4 separate regions of the Homo sapiens genome follow, and regions 2, 3 and 4 are each linked to region 1. The links are contacts of gene promoters, found by promoter capture Hi-C in blood cells and fetal thymus (Javierre and others, 2016). All regions are on one chromosome and are shown on one strand. Each heading gives the region's core, a stretch centred on a gene start or on the middle of the fragment in contact. The rest is flanking DNA. Distances are from core to core; before and after follow the strand shown. Region 1 holds the start of NAA16 (N-alpha-acetyltransferase 16, NatA auxiliary subunit). Region 2 overlaps VWA8 (von Willebrand factor A domain containing 8). Region 3 has its middle 5.9 kb from the start of TRE-TTC1-2. Region 4 overlaps VWA8 (von Willebrand factor A domain containing 8).

The links. The method cuts DNA at HindIII sites, captures the fragments that hold promoters and counts their contacts. A CHiCAGO score of 5 or more calls a contact.
Region 2: a fragment that was not itself captured here is called in contact with the fragment with the promoter of NAA16 in region 1 in 1 of 17 cell types (non-activated CD4 T cells); the score reaches 5.1 in non-activated CD4 T cells.
Region 3: a fragment that was not itself captured here is called in contact with the fragment with the promoter of NAA16 in region 1 in 1 of 17 cell types (fetal thymus); the score reaches 5.0 in fetal thymus.
Region 4: a contact is called between a fragment that was not itself captured here and the fragment with the promoter of NAA16 in region 1, in 1 of 17 cell types (M1 macrophages). The highest score is 5.0, in M1 macrophages.

Annotation. Positions count from the first base shown.
Region 1 is chr13:41,309,372-41,312,580 of GRCh38, forward strand. It overlaps NAA16 (N-alpha-acetyltransferase 16, NatA auxiliary subunit), which reads left to right and starts at 1,896. Exons shown (of 20, transcript NM_024561.5): 1 at 1,896-2,211. The coding sequence starts at 2,158. It also overlaps a transcript of MTRF1 not described here. The HindIII fragment of the contact is 1,668 bases long and covers 1,525-3,192 here.
Region 2 is chr13:41,663,879-41,667,177 of GRCh38, forward strand. The region is part of intron 37 of VWA8 (von Willebrand factor A domain containing 8); the gene reads right to left. Among named protein-coding and RNA genes, the nearest start is that of MIR5006, 97 kb to the left of the region's middle. The HindIII fragment of the contact is 413 bases long and covers 1,195-1,607 here.
Region 3 is chr13:41,053,343-41,056,505 of GRCh38, forward strand. It overlaps a transcript of ELF1 not described here. Among named protein-coding and RNA genes, the nearest start is that of TRE-TTC1-2, 5.9 kb to the right of the region's middle. RefSeq lists an enhancer at 297-346. The HindIII fragment of the contact is 1,147 bases long and covers 939-2,085 here.
Region 4 is chr13:41,643,318-41,646,759 of GRCh38, forward strand. The region is part of intron 37 of VWA8 (von Willebrand factor A domain containing 8); the gene reads right to left. Among named protein-coding and RNA genes, the nearest start is that of MIR5006, 77 kb to the left of the region's middle. The HindIII fragment of the contact is 3,759 bases long and covers 175-3,442 here.

The DNA.
Region 1 (3,209 bases), core at 646-3,145:
GTGTGTGTGTGTTTGCCATGTTGCCCCGGCTGGTCTCCAACTCCTGAGCTCAGGGTGATCCGCCTGCCTCAGCCGCCCAAAGTGCTGGGATTACAGGCGTGAGTCACTGCACCTGGCTGTGCATGTGTCTTTACGGTAGAACAATTTATATTCTTTTGGGTATATACCCAGCAATGGGATTGCTGTGGACCCCCAATTTTAATGACAGTACTTTCCCTATTTTAAAGGACTCCTATGATGCTTTAAAATCATGTGTGAAACGTAGGAGATTGAAAGAAAAAAAAAGACTCCTATGATTCTTTCATGTCCAACCAACTTAGGCTAGAAAGAAGGAAAATCAAATAGGCAGGCACTGTGGCTCACACCTGTAATCCCAGCACTTTGGAAGGCCGAGGTGGGCAGATCACCTGAGGTCGGGAGTTTGAGACCAGCCTGACCAACATGGAGAAACCCCGTCTCTACTAAAAATACTAAATTAGCCAGGTGTGGTGGTGCATGCCTGTCATCCCTGCTACTTGGGAGGCTGAGGCAGGAGAATCGCTTGAACCTGGGAGGCGGAGGTTACAGGGAGCTGAGATAGCGCCATTGCATTCCAGCCTCGGCAACAAGAACAAAACATCGTCTCAAAAAAAGGAAAATAAAAAAGGGCAGCCCAGTTCTGATTACAGCCGACTAAATGCAGTTACTCATCAATTACTTTATAGTCTCAGAAATATGCACCCATTAAGATTCAGCACATGTATAAATAAACTTATGTACCTAATGTTTACACACACCTTACTACTAACCCTACACTGAATGTATGGTTTATTCTTGCCACTGTTGTATCTTTCTAGACTCACACATTACCATCAATATGCTGCCTTTTATTTGTTGTAGAGAGTATCCCAGAGTTGGAAGATCCTGAATTTGAAGCCTGTTTCTCCCATTATTATATGGCTTTCAGGAAGGGGAACCATCTGAAGAGAAAGGGTAGGTAGACTCAGAAGACCAGTGGCCTTATAAAACCGTAATTCCGGCCAGGTGTGGTGGCTCACGCCTGTAATCCCAGCACTTTCGGAGGTTGACGCGGGGGCGGATCACGAGGTCAAGAGATCAAGACCATCCTGGCCAACATGGTGAAAGCCTGTCTCTACTAAAAATACAAAATTAGCCGGGTGTGGTGGCGCATGCCTGTAATCCCAGCCACTCGGGAGGCTGAGGCAGGAGAATCCTTTGAACTCAGGAGGCGGAGGTTGCAGTGAGCCCAGATAGCGCCACTGCACTGCAGCCTGGGCGACAAGAGCGATACTCCATCTCAAAACCAACCAACCAAACAAAAACAAAGATTGTAAATGTTTGTTTGGTTTGCCCTGGAAAGAGAAGGCTTCTACTTAGAGTCTGAATCAAGGAGGAAAAGGAAAGAAAACAAGTTCATCTTTCATCAAAAGTCTACTTTGCATCGGACACTTAAATTCCTAAATGGGGAGAAATGCAAAAAACTCTGACTCTTCAGAGTCATAACTAACATTATCTTGCGCCACAAGCTTATCAAGAGTGCAATACAAGTCAGTGTCTTCTCTTTTCTACTTAAAAGAAAATTCTCGTTTTTATTTATTACTTTATTGCAAGGAGAAGCAGACAATAAGTAGGAGTCTTATGAGGCGTTCTGATGCATAGGAGCAATGGTGAATGAGGGTGGTGACTCACCACCCCATGGGACTCCAAGGTTTTGGTGACAGCTCGCCTGAGCCCCAGGGGGTGCCGAGATTGCGGCGAGGAGAGCCGCAGCACAAGGCAAATCCACGCGGTTGGTCCCCGCTACGCCCCCGTAGTCACCCGCAGCCCCTCGCCAAAGGGCGCTCCGCGCATGCGCACAGGATCCGGCTCGGGAGGCGGACCCTGGCTGCCATCTTGCAGTGCGCGGGAACCGCCGCCGCCGCCGCTGGCCAAAAAGCGGAGCCCAGGGGAAGCGTGTCCTGCTCAGACCGCCTTCCTTCTCCATTGCCACCCGTGCCGAACAGCCAGGCTGCCCAATTGCAACTGTAGACCAATGAACTAATCCATCGCCCGCAGCCCGACTCTCAGCAGCGGTTCGTCCCGGTGCCCACCCCCGCGAAGCGGAGCGCCCGGGCACCTAGCCTCCCTGCCGGCCACCTAGCCTCCCTGCCGGCCACGATGCCGAACGTGCTGCTGCCGCCCAAGGAGAGCAACCTCTTCAAACGCATCTTGGTGAGTGGCCGTAGGCCGCGCTGCCGCCCCCCGGTCCCCGGGTCCTCGGGCCTTAAGGGCAAGCGGTCTGGCGGCGGCCGGCGCGGGCCAGGCTTGGCCTCCGCTGCCCACCGCTCTTTGTTTACCTCGGAGGTCGCGGGACCCCACTTTCCCGCTCCGGCCGGCCCACGGGGGCTGCCGAGCCGCTCCTCCGTGCGCTTCCTTTCCGCGGTCTTCTGCGGCTCGCCTCACCCCCGCCGCGCTCTTTCCAGAAACTTCACGCCGCTCTCCGCAGTGCCCGGGCACAGCCGCCTCGGCCGGTAGTGGCTGCCGTGCTCTCTGCCGCGCCGGGCTCGCAGCAGCCCCTCAGGGATCCTCCCCCGGTGGTTTATTTTGCCAGTCTCTCCTCGGCTAGGTGTTTTGCGTTCTGCATTCTCTGCTTTGCGTTTAGTTAGATTGCACAGCACACCCGCATACCTATTAAAGCGGGATCGATGCGATGGTGGAATTTTTCCTGGTTACGAGGAAATAAAACCGGCAACTTTAGGAAGCCAGGCCTGGCACCACCTCCCTTTGGGAAAAAGTTTGCCTGTTTGTAATGTACCTTATTTACCTCTTTGGAAGTGAATATTTGACTTGAAGTGCGTTTCTGAGTTGTCACCAACTTCAAAACAGCTGTTTGCTTTTTAGTCGCACAGGCCTTGCTTGAGTAATTAAAGCCGCGTGGACTGGCTGGTTTTGCATTTGAGGGGAGCATTTTTACTTTATCGCGGAGCAGAAGCCTGAATAATGGCCCCGTAGTGATGACCGCTGCGGAGCCGGGTGGGCAGTTTTCTGTGGGCTGTGTGCCAGCGTCCCTGGTAGCTTTCCAGGTTCTGTTCTTCCAAGGAGAAGAGGCAGCATTCCTTTGCTTTCCTCAGTATCCTCTGGCTACCCTAGGTTTTAAACTAATATTGTTAGTAGGTAACTGTCTTTTCTAGTTTATCTTTTCACCTGAAAAAAAGCTTTTATTTGCTAAA
Region 2 (3,299 bases), core at 151-2,650, 350 kb after region 1:
AGTAATGATAATAAAGTGCTGAATAGCTCATGTAACTTACTGAATATATTATGTCACAGTCTAGACATAATGTATTCAGTAAGTTACATGAGGTATTCAGCACTTTATTATCAAATAGGCTTTTATGTTAGATAATTTTGCCCAACTGGGAATTACCTTTGCCACTCTTTCCACCTATGTCTTCCTCTTTCTTGGTTTACTCCCTTTTTTTAGCGACAGCACATCATGCAGTAGCTTCTTGAGAAATAATGTAATGTTTTTGAGATTTGCACATTTAATAATGGTTTTAGTCTACTTGATTAATAGCTTGGCTGGATATAAATTCTAGCCGGAAATCCTTTTCCCTCTTTGATTTTCTCTTTAGTTTCCAATGCTGCTTTGGAGAAACCCAGTGCCATTAGGATTTCTACCACTTTTATATGACCTGTTCCCTACTTCTCTCAAAATTAGAAGTTATCGGCTTTATTTCTTTATCCATGGGGTTCTAAAATTTCAAGTGGACATGCTTTGATGTGTGTGTGTGTGTGTGTGTGTGTGTGTGTGTGTGTGTGTTCCATTTGTTATACTGTATATCTGGTTCTTTAGTTCAGTGAAATTCTTAAATATAGATGCTACTACCTTCCTTGAGTCTAAGTAAAAAAAGCAGACTTTCACTTTATCTTCTTGTTGTATGGTTTCCCTCCTGTCCTAATTGGTGCCTTTTGTAAGGGCAGAGGAGAGCCAGCTGCCTAGAAGCATAGGATAGAGGAGAAAATCTGGATGTCTCAACGGCCTGGACAGACTTTCGACTAATCTTCCAAATTTCAGTGCCACCCCACATTACAACCTTCAGAACTACACAGTATCTTCAAGTCCTGTTGCTAACAAAAGCTTAAAATAGGAGGAGGAAAAAGCTATGAAAAGCTTAGAAAGACAGGATTCCAATTTGCCCTGTGTTTTTGTTGCTGTTGTTGTTGTTTTCCTGTTTTCTACTGTTCTCAGGACTCAGAGTAAATGATGTATACTTTGCTGCATGTTTTTTGGTCTTGTTCTAATTTGTCTTTTAAATAAGGCTAAACACTATAATCCTCTGCTGACAATTGTCCTATCATTGATTTCCTGCTTTTCTTCAAGCTGACAGGTTTAGGCAAAGACCATTTTTACAATTCCTTTTTTGGATCTGACAAAATTTTTTCCAAACAGGATTATAAACAAAGCTTACATTTTAACACTAGTATAGATGATGAATTATGTAACTCATTGGATCATAAGTTAATATTAGGTATTTGAGTAATACTGTTTCATTTAAATTTGGCTTTGTCTCCATAAAGCATTGAAGAATTCCGTAGCCCAATATTAACTTAAATTCTAAGTTTCTATTTTTTATTGTTTACTGAGTACTTACTCTGTACCAGGCATTACTGTATTTCATTCTTACAACTTTGTTAAGGTTCAATTATTTTTATATTATGATTAGAAAGTGAGGCTTTGAAAGAATAAGTAATTTGCCAGAGATCACCTACAAAGTTGAACCAGGATTTTAATCTAGGTTTGAACACTATAAATTTCATGCTCTTAAATAATAAGTTGTACTGCTTATGAATAAAATCATAAATATAATAGCAAGAAGCTTTTATTTCTATAGCCATTGTGATTGTAAGGTATACATTTACATTTAAGTAAGTACTTAATGTAAGTAATTAAGTACATTAAGTAAGTACTTAATGTAAGTACTTAAATGTAAGTGTATACCTAACGAGCTCAGAACCGTAACAGTTCTAGAGTCATTGACTGTCAACCTATTAATTGCATTTCACATTCAGGTTTATAGCCAGTATATTGCAGAATTAATTTGTTTTCTTTATACTTTAATATTGTTAAAATTACCTCTTTACTTGCTGATCATATTGTTGAACAATATGCACTAGTGATATGGTAACACAATTATCCTACGGCCTGTCTTGAGAGGAGATTGAAATAGTCCTGCTGATGATTTGAAAAGGAATTTTTTGAGGTTAGACCTTTTCTAAAGAGTGAAAGTAAGATAATATTTCTATTTTAAATATTAGTTTAACATTCTATAATTTTCATAATTTATAGGGGTATCATTCTTATTGGATATGCATAAAAAGTTAATGAAACCTCACAGCCTCCCTAAAATCATAAACTTGTTTATTTGCTTGCCTTAGGGAGGTGACTGCTGATTTAATTTTAATTGTATTTAGCAATTACTGATAATGTTGTGATCCAATGGAAGCTTTTCTTTTAGAGGAATGTAAAAATCAACTTGCAATTTCTCTCTGAAACACAATCTATATAAGAAAGGAGGCCCATATGCATGAACCCAGGAGTGCTATCTTACTTCAGGGCAGATTTTTCTTCAATTCTTTACTCAAACCAAATTTCTGGTTCAAGAAGAGTATGGCCAATTGGTTACTGGGATAACTGCAGGCTTCCACATTTCCTGAGCTAACATGATACTATCTTATCTGTGTTCTCTGTACCTTTCTCCCTTTTCTCTCATTGCTTCTGTCCCTATCACCATCTTACTGCCTCATTTCTGAAAGCCTTGCTGTTAGGTAACTGCCATAATTCTCTTTGGGGAGTTAGATGATAAAGCCATAAATAAGCAAGTGGCATGATAGAGCTAAACTATATCAGCCTATGAGAGATAACTGCTAAATACTTAGGAATTTTTCAAGCTGATTGTTAACCTTTGGTAGCTTGAAATCATGGTGGGGGTGTTTGCAAAATGGAAACTGGCAAACTTAACAACCCCCCAGTCTCCATGAGAACTAGTTTACTAGCACGCCACCGGGATCTTGCATTTTCACTCAGTACTCCTGAAAATCTTAAAGATTCAAAATGAATTTTCATGGCTGGGACTTCTCTAATAGGAATAAACAATAAAAAAATAATTACAGGCAATGCCCAAGTGTTACCATATAGGGAAACAGCTGGATCATCTTGCTGAAACCCAGCTCTACTGACACGTGGCGAGGAGACATGGATGGTGAGAAATTATAAAAGTTCAGAAAAGCATTGCCTTTCTGGGCCAAGAAAGATTCCCAAAGACACATGTACATATAACAATCCTACAAAATATGGATTGTTCTGTAACAATGATCCACTGAATCAGACTATTTTTTCAGAGTTATTGATCAAAGTAAAGAATGATGTATAAGAGTAAACTATGCTCCTTAAAAAGAACAAAGAATTTCATAATCCCATAGAGGATCTGAAGATTACCTAGCATGTAAATTTACTAATAGTCAGCCAGTTAAATAACCCAGTGGTTTCTAAAACTGAAAATAGAACTT
Region 3 (3,163 bases), core at 262-2,761, 260 kb before region 1:
GACTCCGTCTCAAAAAAAAAAAAAATTAAGATCATTAACATTATATTTGACCATTAGTACATTACCAAAACGTAAGGTCCTTATGGTAAAGTACCAGGTCTCTATGGTGAAGTATCAGTGGCAAGGGGGTCAATCAATGATTCATCCATTCTCCTCAGTGTGGATATCACCTTCTTAAATAAGGCACAATTGCTGACCCCAGATGGCTGCTTCAACCCACTTCTGCTTTACTGGTGACACAAATTTCAAGCCCTAAATGGCTACCCCACCCCTTCTGACACCTCTGGGAATTCAAGTGTGTAAGATATTTATAACATTATTGGCTGTAAACAGCTCATCTCTTAGGAAAGTTTTATTTGGTCGTGAGTCCAAAACTGAAACATTTCCTGAGTTGCAGTGAGCAAATAAGTATTTCACAATCACCATTTTATTTTGATTCAAGCTAGTTTATGAAACTACCAAACTAGTATAATTTGTGAGCAGAGTGTCCTTCTAAATAAGTAGCGTAATATAAACCAAACTCATTTGTATAAATACAATTAAGGCAATCCATCCAAAACGTAGAGAACTTTTAACAACTACAACCAAATCCACAAAAAAACGAGGCAAGAAGGCCACTTTCACTTAGCCAAAAAAGGGTGTGGGGGGATGTTTGATATATTTCTCAAAAAATATAACTCTCAAGGATAATACCATATGTCTTATAAAATGGGATGAAAAAAATCAGTACAACAAAAGGGATAAATGACCATTTCACAACAGGCCTACATGCCACAATATTTTAAAAAACCAACCCTTCCATATGAAATTTCTAGAGCAAAGAAGTACCATCTAAAAACCACTCTTGAATCATTGCAGCTTTTTAAAACTACTGGTTCCATTTTAGATTCCCTTTATTTAAAAGCCTCAGAAAAAATTCAGAGAAAAAATTAATTTCAAGCTTTCTATTTAATGAGCATCACTGCATGCACCAACGTGGAAGAACCAAAGCCAGTTCTAAAACAGTAAATCGCAAATGAATGAAACTTTAATTCTTGATGGTTTTAGTCCTGATATTTTGTCCACAGGGTGGCAGTCTCACAGTATTAACTTGTTCATGGAGTCAATGCACAATTTCAGAGTTCGAAAGCCACAGACACACGCAGGTATGCAATAAATTTACTAGCTGGCCAACCCTAAGAGTAAAAACTGCCAGTCCGCTGCAATAAAATCTGTGCTTCATAACTTCTCTATTTCTTTTAGAAATATTTACTTTCTGAAGTCGTAGATTTTTTCCTTCAGTGTTATCTGTTGTATCTGATCCTTTCTATTCTGCTGCCACCACCCTATTTAGGGAGAGAGTAGAAGCAAGGAGAGATGTTAGGAGATTATTATTGGACTGCGGGAAGTCCTTGACCTTTGTCAAGGCCTAATGGAGTGGGAACAGGAAAGGGACAGTGGAGATGGGGAGCACAGACATAATCCTTCCATCCACCAGTTCAACCTGCACGTTACTACCAAATTCATTTCATTAAAACATTCCTCGTATTACCAGAAATCTCTTTTCCTAACTAAACTCCTTAGCTCCAAATCCAAGAGGCTTCCAAAATCTCCTTGTCAAGGGGCTTCGTAAAATAAACTTTGCTTTGCTTTAAATAGACCTTGCTTGCCACTTCTTGATTTTCATTCATTCATTCAAATGTTTTCTGAATGTTTACCAGGTGCCAAGCCCTGCTTCAAGTCTGATGATACAGAGGGAAACAAGTCAAAGCCCCTGCTCCAAAGTTACACTCCTGACAGTGGTCTGTGAGCGGGAGGAGGATATGTCCCCAGACACTTCCAGCTCTCTGCAGGTAAGAGGTATCGTTCTTCCTAAGTATGAGCCATTGGAGGCACACTAGGCATCAGGAGGATAGTAAAAACACATTGTCCACTACAGACCCTAATCTATTTTCGCAGCCTTATTTCCCATTCCTATCCTACCTGCACCCTCAGCTCCATTAAAATGTGCTAGTAACTGTTGACATGCCTCTGCTCCTGCTTGCTTCCTCTCAATGCCTTGTCCCCATCCCTGTCTCTACCAGCAAAAGCCTAACCAGCCTTCAAAGCTTATCTCGAATGCTGCCTCCTACAGGAGGCCTTTCCTCATTCCCCTCACACAAACTCAGATATGGATTTTGAACACTATCAAACACTTATGACCCCTGGCTTAGTCCCCTCTGAGCATTTATCAAACTATGTATTGTATCATAATTATCTGTATACTTACCTAACCTCCTCCATCAGTTATTTAATAAGCACTTACCACATTTGTGGAACTAACTAGGAGCTGAAGTTTCCCCATTAAATTATTCCATTATTATTTTAATTTTTATTTTCTAGAGAGAGGGTCTCACCCTGTTGCCCAGGCTGGAGTTCAGTGGTGCGATCATAGCTCACTGCAGCCTCAACCCCCCAGGTTCAAGCAATCCTACCACCTCAGCCTCCTGAGGAGCTGGGACTACAGGAACGCACCACCACACCAGCTAATTTTTGTTTTTTTTTTTCTTTGGTAGAGATGAAGTTTCACCATGTTGCCCAGGCTGCTATTATTTTAAAACAGGTAATATCCAAATGATAAATGTAAAATCAAGAGAGAAAATATTCTATATGCTTTTTATTGCTTCAATCCCTTTTAAGAGTTTAGTCGAGATAAAACTTACATATCATGAAGTTTATCTATTTAAAGTGTACACTTCAACATTATTTAGTGCATTTATAGAGTTATAGAACTATCACTGTAATCTATTTCAGGACTTTCAATCACCCTAAATTTACTATCCACATTGGCAGTCACCTCACCCCAAACCTCCCTATCCCCTCTAATCCAAGGCAACCACTAATTTTCCCTCTTTCTCTATAGATTTGCCTATTTTGGATATTTCATATAAATGGAATAAAAATGTGGTCTTTCATGCCTGACTCCTTAGTGTAATGTTCTTGTGATTGAGTACCTCATCCCTTTTTATTCCCAAATATTCCACTGTGTGGATACACTACATTTTACCTATTCACTCATCAGTTGAGGGACATTCAGGTTGTTTCTACTTTTTGCTTATGAATAATGCTGCTATAAACATTTGTATACAAGGTTTGGTGTGGGCATGTTTTCATTTCTACTGGGTACACACCTAGGAGTGGAAAT
Region 4 (3,442 bases), core at 804-3,303, 330 kb after region 1:
CCTGAACTTTTCCGATCTGGACTCCCAGCCATTGCCAGTCATCACACTCCTCACTCTCCATTTTGCTATCAAGGACTTTTCATCTCTGAATAGCTGTCACTTAGTACAATGCCTAGTGCATAGTAGATCCTCAATAAATAGTTGTCAAAGGAATCAATAATGAATGAGAACTGAAGCTTCCTTCTCATTGACTGGAGCTGGTTTGCTTCCAAGTGCCACTTCTACCCTGCCACTTTCCACTATTAACAGGGCTTAGGGAGCTAACGTTGTTTGCATATGTTAGTCTTGGGTGAGTTAATACAGCCACAGAGCTTAATGAACGCCAGTGTAGTTGCTTGGTATGTCCCTTATGGGGCAGCTGCCTAGGGCTGTACAGGGTAGGTCTCAGCTGAGGCAGTGTGAGTGGAGCTGAAAGTCACACAATGCTCACATCACCAACACCAGGCTCTAAAGAAGGTAGCCAAAAGAAAGCAGCTCTTTCTGTTTTCTAACCGGTTTGCCCAGAGAGGTCCCACTTTGCAATCCATCCTCTCGGTGGGAGAGCCTTTTTCTAATTTCATACAGTAGCTCATTTGTGTTGGAAGAGGCCCTAGCAGGGCTAACATTACCACAAGGAAACATAGTAAGTGAGTTTTTGGCAAGTGTATCTCTTAAGGAGCAAGCATCTGTGAAGGAGTGAATCTATTATCTCCTTTTTTCTTATTATAGGTAAAACCCAGTATCTTTCTCCTGTTAAGTTCATACAGACAGACTTCATTGAAATTTAAGGGCAACAATTTTAGCATGGTAGCTGACTACCCAGATTTTTTTTTAATTGTGCCATTATATTAAAGCAATTTTTCCCAGGGAAGCAAGGTGAACCCTCTTAGCTTGGAAGAACCCTTGGCTCTTTCAGAGGCTTTCCTCTTACGAGCCTCTAATCTACCTGTGAGACCTAGGCATCTTGTACCACCCCCGCCAAAAAAAAAAACCAGAGTGTAGAGAGGTAGTTTGCCTTGCCCATATGCACTTCTCTAGGATAATTAAATATATATTTTGTCTAGTCTTAGCAGATACATGTAGAGCAGGTCCTTGAATAACATTTTGTTCAAGGACATTTCATTATAAAGTCAATGAGAAAAAACACAGATTCCCGGCCAGGGCCACTGTCTGTGTGGGGTCTGCACGTTTTCCCCATGCCTGTGTGTGTTTTCTCTAGCTACTCTGGTTTCCTCCCACATCCCAAAGCTGTGCACTTTAGGTTAACTGGTGTGTCTACATGGTCCCAGTGTGAGTGAGTGCAGGTGTGTTAGTGTGCCCCACGAGGCGGGGGATGGCCTCCTGTGCAAGGTGGGTTCCCCTGAGCCACCAGGATAGGCTCTGGCTAACTGCAGCCCTGAACTGGAGTAATTTGGTAAACAGTTATCTTACTTGTTTTCATTAATCTTTCTTAAATGTATATATAGCTTACACTGATTTCAGTGTTTACTATAAGGAGTGTTTTGGGTCTCTATTTAGAAGTTAGGTGATGTTTTTGTAACCAGAAATATGCTGTAGGAACTTAACTCTTGTTTATCCCAATTAGCCTATGGTAAAACTGGTTTCATTATTTATTGTTTCATTTAAAGTTTCCAAGAATAGTATAGTTTCCAAGAACCTGTTGACTATGTTAAGTGAGGACTCACTGTATTACTGCTACTCAAAAATTTCCTCTAAACATGGTTAAAAGCACAGACATTGGAACCAGTTTCCTTGAATTCAAACTCTGTCTTTGACACTTATTAACCGTGTAAGGCACTTCATCTGTAAAACAAGGATAGTAATGGCACCTACCTCATAGGGTCATTGTGGGGGTTAAAAATGTTAAATTCACATTATTACTTAAGATAGTGCCTGGCCATACTAAATGCAATATGCATTATCTATCATTACTATTATTTTAGGAGAGTGAAAAAGGTACTGCTTAGTACAAAACATTCATTTTTCAGTAGAGATATGCCAGGTATGTATCATGTTAATATTAGCATTGGGAAAAAATAACTCCGGATTTTCATCAAGGATATTTTCTGAAGTTTGGGTTGTATGAGAATTCTACACTCTGTCCAATTCTTATAATAACACTCATGATCTGCTGTTCATTCATGACCTCACTCAGGAAGTTCAGTTTTGCTACAAATATTACAAATACCAAACTGATGTTTCCTAACTCACTCAGTGTTCTGCCCAGATTGCGGCAGGCCCCTTTTTATGGCTCTGGCAGCTGATATTAGGACTTGATTACTTCTGAACTCCTGAAAACATGTTTGCTGTCAGTTGCAAAAGAGGTGGCATGAGAGCGACTCAAAACATTTCCAGTATCATGACTGTTCCATGAAAGACTTGAGAGAAATGGATACCTTAAAAAAACGAGAATAAATGTGCTGAAGTGCCAAGGAAAAGGCAGTTCTCTCTCTACTAGCTCCAATTTAGGATTTGCACTTCAATCTATACTTGCTCACTTGTGAAATTAAAAATCTTTTTTTTTAAATCACATAATATCAGATGTGACTTCTTCACTTACTTTTATTTTTCTAAGTGCATCTGAAAGAAGAAAGGTATTTCCAGGAGGGCAAAGAAGAGAATGTATATGATTTTTCTTCTCACTTAAGATTCTTATCAAATTTTCCTGATTTTTTTTTTTTTTTTTTGAGACGGAGTTTTGCTCTTGTTGCCCAGGCTGGAGTGCAATGGCACAATCTAGGCTTACCACAACCTCCACCTCCTGGGTTCAAGCGATTCTTCTGCCTCGGCCTCCCGAGTAGCTGGGATTGCAGGCATGTGCCACCACGCCCAGCTAATTTTGTATTTTTAGTAGAGAAGGGGTTTCCCCATGTTGGTCAGGCTGGTCTAGAACTCCTGACCTCAAGTGAACTGCCCACTTCTGCCTACCAAAGTGCTGGGATTACAGGTGTGAGCCACCACGCCCGGCCAAATTTTCCTGATTTTTATGTGTAGGGTTGAACAATGGAACCTAATCTGAATCATTAATTCATTCATGGATTCATTCAGTGAGTAATGATGATGAGTGACGACCACGTGCCGGTGCCCTGATGTTTACAGTCTAGGCATTTTAAATATACTACTTCTGATATTCATAATTCTCCATATTAGGTATTATTTCTACTTTGCAGGACAGGAAACTAAGGCTTAGAGATGTATAGCAACATACTCATTATCACATAGTTATTAATTGGAGGAGCCAGGATTGAAATCTCAGTCCATCTCCTTCTAAAACCCAGGTTTATCAGATTTTTTTTTTACTACATTACACTGGCTATAAACAATGAATGTATTCTTGATAGTACAAAATTCAATGTTTTATAAAGCATATCATGGTTTAGGAAAGCAAGAAATATGCCTGAAAGGCAAGCATTTTTCCTTTTTAATATATATCAGATTTATAGAAAGCACTGTATACATCAGT